Regions from separate parts of the Homo sapiens genome. Here all the other regions are linked to region 1. The links are contacts of gene promoters, found by promoter capture Hi-C in human tissues and cell types (Jung and others, 2019). All regions are on one chromosome and are shown on one strand. The core of a region is centred on a gene start or on the middle of the fragment in contact, and the rest is flanking DNA. Distances in the headings are between cores, read along the strand shown.

What was found. Contacts are between HindIII fragments. The study calls those that stand out against the background at their distance.
Region 2: a fragment that was not itself captured here is called in contact with the fragment with the promoter of KRTAP4-8 in region 1 in 3 of the 25 tissues and cell types used here (IMR-90 fibroblasts, bladder and liver).
Region 3: a contact is called between a fragment that was not itself captured here and the fragment with the promoter of KRTAP4-8 in region 1, in 4 of the 25 tissues and cell types used here (heart right ventricle, mesenchymal stem cells, stomach and 1 more).

The regions. Positions count from the first base shown.
Region 1 is chr17:41,096,640-41,099,517 of GRCh38, forward strand. KRTAP4-8 (keratin associated protein 4-8) reads right to left here and starts at 1,503. Exons shown (of 1, transcript NM_031960.3): 1 at 342-1,503. The coding sequence starts at 1,445. The coding sequence ends at 888. The HindIII fragment of the contact is 2,566 bases long and covers 1-1,588 here.
Region 2 is chr17:41,344,308-41,347,185 of GRCh38, forward strand. KRT33A (keratin 33A) reads right to left here. Exons shown (of 7, transcript NM_004138.4): 4 at 2,754-2,878; 5 at 2,537-2,662; 6 at 2,141-2,361; 7 at 1,785-1,929. The coding sequence ends at 1,812. Among named protein-coding and RNA genes, the nearest start is that of KRT33A, 5.1 kb to the right of the region's middle. RefSeq lists enhancers at 2,153-2,653, 2,654-2,878. The HindIII fragment of the contact is 3,560 bases long and covers 1-2,878 here.
Region 3 is chr17:40,855,159-40,858,036 of GRCh38, forward strand. The region is part of intron 1 of LOC105371777 (a long non-coding RNA gene); the gene reads left to right. Among named protein-coding and RNA genes, the nearest start is that of KRT12, 11 kb to the right of the region's middle. RefSeq lists an enhancer at 1,839-2,133. The HindIII fragment of the contact is 6,754 bases long and covers 1-2,878 here.

The DNA.
Region 1 (2,878 bases), core at 253-2,752:
CTTACAAACAACAATACTGGGGGCTTTACCTATCCCAAAGCATTCCGTATATCAAATTGAAACAATGAAAAGCTTCTATTTTATTTTAGTTTATCTGTGACATTACTAGGGGTTTTACGTATCCCAAACCATTCCGTATATCAAATTGAAACAATCAAAAGCTTCTATTTTATTTTAGTTTATGTGTGACATTGGAGCAGTTTGGCACTATGATTTCATCCCTGAAGTCTTACTTTGGAATCATGCTTTGAGAATCCCCTTCTACTGCATTCCCACCTCACCCCCATGAATCAGTAAACTCAGTGAAAATTATCACAAAAAATGCAAAAAACAATAAAAGATTTCTAAATGAAAAGTTTAATACAATATATTTTGTGAACACAATAAAGATAAAGAACTAATAAAATAGAAAAATTCTGACAAACTTGAACAGTGAGAGAAAGAGAGAGCAGGGAGAAAGCGGGAGAGCACGGGAGGGGCAGCCTCCTACCTTTCCAAAAGAAAAGAATGACTGAAAGGCTGACAGACAAATAGTATGTTTGAAAGGGAGATAATGTGTACCTAATTGGGAAGGATATTCTGTAGGCTCAAAATGATTTTAAAAAATGAGGAATTTAGAGGATTGGAATAATTTCTTAGCTAGTGGATTACAAATTAATTCGTATTTGGTGCCATGACTGGAAGAAAAAGAAAGCAAGGGAGGGAGTTTAAAATGAACCAGAATGTTCTCACAGAGTCAGCGGGATGGTGATGGGCTCATTGGATACATGAGGTCCACCCTGCTGAATGACATAAATCCCACTCCATGTGTCCTAATATTCAGCACAGAAGAATGGTCTACATTTGTGGACCAGCGGTGAAGGGAGAGATGAGCCAGGGCAGTGGGCTCAGCAGCAAGAGGAGGCGCAGCACACGGGGCGGGGGCAGGTGGAGATGACACAGGCTGGGCGATAGCAAGTGGTGTGGCAGGAGACTCGGCCACAGACTGGACGCAGGCAGCAGCAGGGGCGGCAGCAGCTGGATTCACAGCAAGAGGGGCGGCAGCAGCTGGAGATGCTGCAGCTGGGGCGGCAGCAGTTGGGCTGGCAGCACACAGACTGGCAGCACTGGGGCTTGCAGCAGCTGGACACACAGCAGCTGGGGCGGCAGCAGCTGGAGATGCAGCAGCTAGGGTGGCAGCAGGTGGGCTGGCAGCACACAGACTGGCAGCACTGGGGCTTGCAGCAGCTGGACACACAGCAGCTGGGGCGACAGCAGGTGGGCTGGCAGCACACAGACTGGCAGCACTGGGGTCTGCAGCAGCAGGACACACTGTAGCTGGGGCGGTAGCAGGTGGTCCTGCAGCAGGTGGTCTGACAGCAGCTGGGGCAGCAGCAGGTCTCCTGGCAGAGGTCTTGGCCACAGCCTTGGTCAGAGCACACGGAGCCACAACAGGAGTTGACCATGGTGTCAGAGGGTGAAGGATCTATTTGGGTTTCCAAGAGAGTAAAGTTCTTGAGTTTGGAAGTTTCCTGGGTCCATAGCCCCTTTATACCCGCCTGAAGGCCCGTTGTCACCACGTCATTATTTCCTTGTTATTATTTACCTACTGAAAAAATTAATCATGTAATTACATCATTGTGTGTTTCTAGTTAAATACTCCAAAACAGAGAAAATAACTCATTTCCTTTTCCTGCTGTGCTCCTGTGTTTCCATTGGAAATGCTTGTCATATTTCTTCCTTGGTGGGGGTCACCTTTGTCCCTGGTCTATGCAGTGTCTTTTACAAAGCACTGGTCACAGGACTCTCTGACATTTTGTTTTTAAATATGACTCTCCCTCCTACCTGTAGATTGCTGTCTGCAAATAATGGGGGACGATTTTTATAATGTGAATGTATCTTTCATTGTCAAAGAACGTCCTGGTCAGGTGAAATGTTGGGAAGGAATTAGAAGGAAGGACTCATTTGTGGAAGGATCTCCCATCTGTAATGAGGATGACTCTGATCCCGTGTGTGCATCTCGGATGGTCGGGCAGATGGTCAGATCCCAACAAGTTCTAAACTCTTTGTCAGATCTTATTCCACAGCCTCCAGCAAAAGTACTTACCCATGACTCACTGCCTTTAAAGGGTAAAAACACATTTTGCTGTATTTCTTACAGTATAGGCATTAAGAGTAGGAAGTTTTGATTTATCTTTTTTTTTTTTTTTTTTTCTGACGGAGTCTCCCTCTGTCACCAGGCTGGAGTACAGTGGCATGATCTCGGCTCACTGCAACTTCCACCTCCTGGGTTCAAGCAGTTCCTTTTCCTCAGCCTTCCGAGTAGCTGGGACTACAGGTGTGTGCCACCACACCCAGCTTACTTTTGTATTTTTAGTAGAGACAGGGTTTCACCATGTTGGCCAAGATGGTATTGATCTCTTGACCTCATGATCCACCCGCCTTTGCTTCCCAAAGTGTTGGGATTGCAGGCGTGAGCCCCCAACACCCAGCCTGATTAATCTTTGATCATCAAAATTGCGTGATGCATTTTTCATTTACAAAAGCATTTGTTATATATGAAGAATATTTAGAATTATTAAGCCTTCAATAACATGCATCCAAGATGTTCTATTGGGTACTCTGGGTGTAGAACAGATAAACCCTCATCTTTTTCTTGCAGGTACTTGCATAAGACACATGGATAGGAAACAGTTTGGCAGAAATGAAAAGAATTACAATTATTTTCATTAAACAACTAAAATAAAAAATGTATAATATGTGGATAAGTTCCATACACCCTCATGGTATGTATATTACTTGTGAAGTATTGACTATGTAGCAGGCATTGTACCAAATATCTTACATTTGTTTCATTTTCACACTTTAATACAACCTTATGAACTAGTTTATATTCTTA
Region 2 (2,878 bases), core at 236-2,735, 250 kb after region 1:
GAAATGTTTTATATACATGATCTTCCACTAAAAAGGAGCCCAGACTCTCAGATCCTCAGGAACATCTGTTCTCCATTCTATAGGACTGTGCTGCTGAAGACAAATGGAGTAGCGAGTGACCAATCTTTGAGACTCAGCATTCTCTCTATGTTAGCCCTAACGCAAAAGAGAGGACTGGTCCGCACCTAAGGGAAGAAGGTGGCCACGAGCAACTGTTGAGGGCTGGTCTCCTTAGCTGTCCTCTGGTATCCACAGCCCTGAATGGAAGGTTTTGGGTATTTTTCCCTGGACATCTCTACCACACCTAAATATATGGTCTGCAAGTTTTGGAGAGAATTTCCAACCCCCACTCTACCTCCTGCCCCTCCCTACCTGTTCTCATAGGTTGATGATATTCTAATCTCTATTAAGAGTTCCCATTCTCAATATCTCTTCATTTCAATCATTGATTTAGAAAAGTAGGAGTAGAGAAGTGAAAAATGAGACTCAATCTCATTTGTGGGCTGGGCCTTGGGTTTCCTTACTTGATTGCTGTTTTTGTTTTTTTAAACATTGCCAAATCTGGATGCCACTGAAGGCAGTAATGTGACATAATGATGGTCCCAACTGCATATAAATAAAAACAGGTGGGGCCAAAGCTCAAGGCTCACTAGGACAAAAGAGACTTTTCCGCCAAATAACCCACTCACAGTTCTCCATCATCTGACGCAGACCCCAGGCAACTGAGCAGAGAACTCCAGCATAGAGTTCCAGGCCCACATCATAGAACTACAGAAAGTCACAAGGAGTCCTTGAGTGCCGAGGCAGGAACAAAGAGAGGAAGGTGAACCAAAGGCACCTCCCCACCATCCAGCCTAGCAGATCCCACACTCCTCCTGGCCACTATATCCCTCTACCCTTTGCTGCTCCTTCCTACTTTCTACCTAAACATTTCAGCACAGCATGGTTGTGTGTGTGCATGTGTGTGTGGTGTACATATGCTTATATGGTATGTGGTTATGTATATGTGTATATGAGATTATATACCATATGTTAAGGTGATAGATTTATATTACCTCAGTACAGGTTTTTTTTTTACTCAAAAGGTTTTCGGATCCCTCCACTTAATGTTTCAGAATAAATAGTTCCTGTGTCTCTAAAGACACCTTCATATGAATTTGCCATTCTGTTTCCCACCACCTTCTTCCCAAACACTAAATCCGGGTTAATAGTCTTTCATGGAGGCTTTTCCATTGAAGGAAATCATAGGCCATATATGGGGTGAATAACCTCTTCATCTGATGGAAAAACTCTGGTTATTTTTTTAATTTATACAAGACAGCCAATTTTGGAATTAATGAGTGAAACAGACAATTATAACTTTTGAATAACAGTTTATTAGGAGGTTAACAAAGGATTTCTATTGCATCTCCAAAGACCAAGAGTGACAAGGAAGATTTGCTCCAATTATGTTCTGTTTCATAGCATGCCCATCAGCTCTATCACATTTAATGGAATTTTCTCTAAATTGTATTATTTAAGTTTTATTCAAGTATAACATGTTATGCAAATGTGTCTTTATGGTGATAGATATTGCTTGATCTTGATCCTGCTGTAGGTCTCTCTATGTGACTCAGAAGACAGATTTTGCAGCCTTATGCTGAAGAATCAAGCCAGGGAATACAGTGGAAGGCTAGAGCTGACCCCTGGAAGCCAGGGTTGATAGAAAGGTTTCTGCCTCTTTCCAAAGTGTGGTCACTGTTGGAGATGTTGGGATGAAGTAGAGTTGAGGTGTGACTGATGCCTTTCTTCTCCTCCTGGTTGTGGGGCCTCTAGTACCCAAATGTGTTGCAAGGCCCACACCGAGCACGTAGGCCACAGGGATTAGAGATACAGGGCCCAGTGGACTTGTCACATGCATTGGTTGTGGCGCAGGGGTTGGAGGGGAGCCTGTGGGCAGAAAATCATTGGAGCAAGTTAGAGTAAAATGAGCTGAAGAGATTGGAAAATACTAAAAGGGCTTTGTGTAAGAATATTGTTCCTCCTTGGACTTCCTCCAAACAAAAGCTTGAAATTATAAATTCATTTCCATCAAGAAGACTATTCATCTCCACAGCAACCTAACATGCCCCAAGGAGAAGATTACTACCCCCATACTGACTTGCAGTCCTCGCTCTCCAGCAGGCTCCGGTACGTGTTGATCTCACACTCCAGCCGCGCCCGCACGTCCAGCAGCACCTGATACTCCTGGTTCTGCCGCTCCAGGTCACTGCGGATCTCCGCCAGCTGGGACTCCACGTTGGTGATCAGTCTCTGCACCTGGGACAGCTGGGAGCTGTAGCGGGCCTCGCTCTCTGTCAGCGTGTTTTCCAGAGAGTCTCGCTGTGGTGGGGAAGATTGAGAGTGTCAGAGAGCTGCTCCTTATAAGGTTCCTCCATGGGGTTCCAAAGAACTCACAAGCTCCAAGAGCTAAGGAGAGTGTGTGGCCCCAAGGGCATCCCCAAGACTCTGCCTCCCAAGTTCCCATCGCTCACCAGCAGGTCTGAACAATACACACCAGGTTGTGCTGGGCCTGCAGCTCGATCTCCAGGGCATTGACCGTGCGTCTCAGCTCGATGATCTCCGCCTGGTAGGACTGCAGCTGCTCCGAGCTGGATACCACCTGCTTGTTCAGCTCCTCGGTCTGAAACACCCAAGGGGAGAAAGGATCAGACCCTGCCTCCGGGGCCCTGGGGGGCCTCGGGTCCTGAGTGGCCACGTGCTTAGATGCCCACCTGCGTGGCGAACCATTGCTCCACTTCCCTGCGGTTGGTTTCCACCAGGGCCTCATACTGACTCCTGGTCTCATTCAGGACCTGGTTCAGGTCCACAGTGGGAGCAGCGTCCACCTCCACGTTGA
Region 3 (2,878 bases), core at 202-2,701, 240 kb before region 1:
TATTTTATATACTCTGTATTTAGTTGTAGAATCCTCCCCTTCAATTTGAGCAGCTACATTAATATTAGCATTTTAGACAGGCACCGTGGTTTGCACCTTTCATCAGGCATCTGACATTTGACTAAAATGGCAGTAGTCTGAGGTGGGAGGATCACTTGAGCCCAGGAATTTGAGGCTGCAGTGAGCTATGAGCACACCATTGCACTACAGCCTGGGTGACAGAGAGCGACCCCATCTCTGAAGAAAGCACATCTTATAGTTTCAAAGTGCTTTATGGCTTGTTAAGCTCCTTCACAGAAGTTGGCTTATTTGATGCTCACAACTTGTGATAGAGGGAAGATAAATATTATTCCCCCCTCCCCATATGTTGGGTGAGAAAAGTGCACTTTTTTTTTTTACAAAAGTGGAATAATTTAGGATTGTGCATGAAGGGAAGAAAAAGAATAAATATGTCTGGGGGAAATATGTAAACCAGTTCATTTCTTTAGTTGTAGAGAGACTTTTTTTCTTTGCATAATAATAGCAGGTAATATTTAGTGCTTACTATATGCCAAGTGTGAATTGACCCATAGAATTCTCATAATAGGGCGTGAAGCAGGTATCCTTTTTTGCCTTGATTTTAGGGAACAGAGAACTATGGAACAGAGAGGTAAGTAAAACCATTAGAAAGTGCCAGAGCTGGGACCCAAACTCAGGCCTTTGAACTGTGCTTTTAACCTCTATGCTCAGTGGTGTACTGGTGTAAAACAGTTTTCTGGGAAATACATTTTAAAAGCCCAAGTTCCATTTGTGTAAATACTCCCATCATGGCCAATTTCAAGCTGCCCATGGTTTAATAGCCAGCTTGGAAAATTCCTGAATATTTACTGATCAGTGATTAAGAGCCAGCTTGCCCTAGGACACCTTTGACGATCCTACATGGCCTCTCTGCGCCTGTGGACAGTATCATCTGAAGAAAGAATATTCAATTATTATTTTAAAATTGACTATTGAGTTAATATTTACTTACAATGAAATATATTCGTTTTAAATGTGCAGTTTGAAGAGCCTTGCTAAATGGACCCATCACCACAGTCAAGATACGGAACACTTCCATCGGTCCCAAAGGTTCTCAGGTGCCCCTTCCAGGTTAACCAGTTAATTCTCACTCCTCCCACACCTTTCAGCTCAGGTGACCACTGAGCTTATTTCTGTCACTATAGATGAGATTTTATCTTTCTGAAAGTTTCATATAAATGGAATCATACAGTATGTATTCTTTTGTGTCTGGTTTCTTTAGCTCAGCACAATCTTGGATTCAGTTCCAAGATTTAAGAAACATTTACTACCCCATAAAAAAATCATTTACTCAGCTATATGATTAAGAATTTCATTTTCATTTGATATTTGAGTATGTTTTTAAAGCCTGAGTAGTTATTGATTGGCTGGTTTTCTTAACTCTAAATAATTGCTAACTTTCTTTTTCACTTTATGCCTTGTAGAACTGCCTCCTTACTGGTGAACTTTTTGGAAACTAATTATTAGTTAAATAAGACAATTTTAATTTGCTAAGTTGATCGTTGTAAAAGGTTTGCTTTTTTTCTTCTTTCTTGTTTTAAAAGATAAACCTTCTAGTATCAATACATCTCAAGTGGCTTGAACACACAGGCTTAGCTTATTTTTATTTTATTTTATTTTATTTTTTGAGACGGAATCTTGCTCTGTTGCCCAGGCTGGAGTGCAGTGGTGTGATCTTGGCTCACTGCAACCTCCGCCTCCTGGGTTCAAGCTATTCTCCTGCCTCAGCCTCCCTAGTAGCTGGGACTACAGGCGCACGCCACCACTCCTGGCTAATTTTTGTATTTTTAGTAGAGATAGGGTTTCGCCATGTTAGCCAGGCTGGTCTCGAACTCCTGACCTCAAGTGACCCACCTGCCTTGGCCTCCCAAAGTGCTGGGATTACAGGCATGAGCCACCGCGCCCAGCCAGGTTAGTTTATTTTAAAGTTCATTTCTTGAGACTCCAGAAGATGGCACTCTTACAAAGCCTAAAGAAATAAAGCTTTGGCTTTGTTTTTCTACGTGGTTGTTTTTCTAGGTGGTTCCTTCCTGCTGTGACCCATTTGCAAAGCCATTTGTTTGGGAGAATAACATTTATTTTTTTTTCTGATTATCAGAGTCATATATGCTGTTTGTTAAACATTTTAATAAAGGTATTCTTCAAACCCCTTGCTAATCCCCAAGAGATAACTACTATAACAGTTCAGTATATATACAGTATTTTCCAGACCTTCCACTAGCTTTTACACACAACATATGCATATCAAAGTAAAAATTTAAATTTGTAAAATTTTAGATTTTAGGATAATCATAAACAATGTACTTGTCTTTTGCTATAGGATTCTTTATTCAGTTTTTTTTTCTTAGGAGTTCTTTTCTTTAAAGACAGACCTTCCACTTCTGCAATTCATTACTTGCCGAGTCCAAAGGGACCTCTCACATCTGTGTTGAATTAGGGCTTGTGGCCTAGTGAATGAGGGATAGACTCTCATGATAAGGATGCTGCTATGGTCTGAAAGTTTTTGTCCCCCCATATTTGTATGTTGAGACCTAATCACCAATGACCCAGTATTAGGAGGTGGGGTTTTCGAGAGTGGATTAGGTCATGAGGGTGGAGCCCTGGCGAAGGGGATTATTGTCCTTATAAATGAGGCCCTGGGGCATTGCTTTGTCCCTTCTGCCATGTGAGGATATATCGAGAAGCTGTGTATGATCCAGAAAGCGGGTCCTTATCAGACAGTGAAGCTGCCTCCAGAACTGTGAGAAATAAGTTTCTCTCATTTTTAAGCCACGCGGTCCGAGGTATTTTGTTCTAGCCGCCCGAAGGGACTGATAGATGC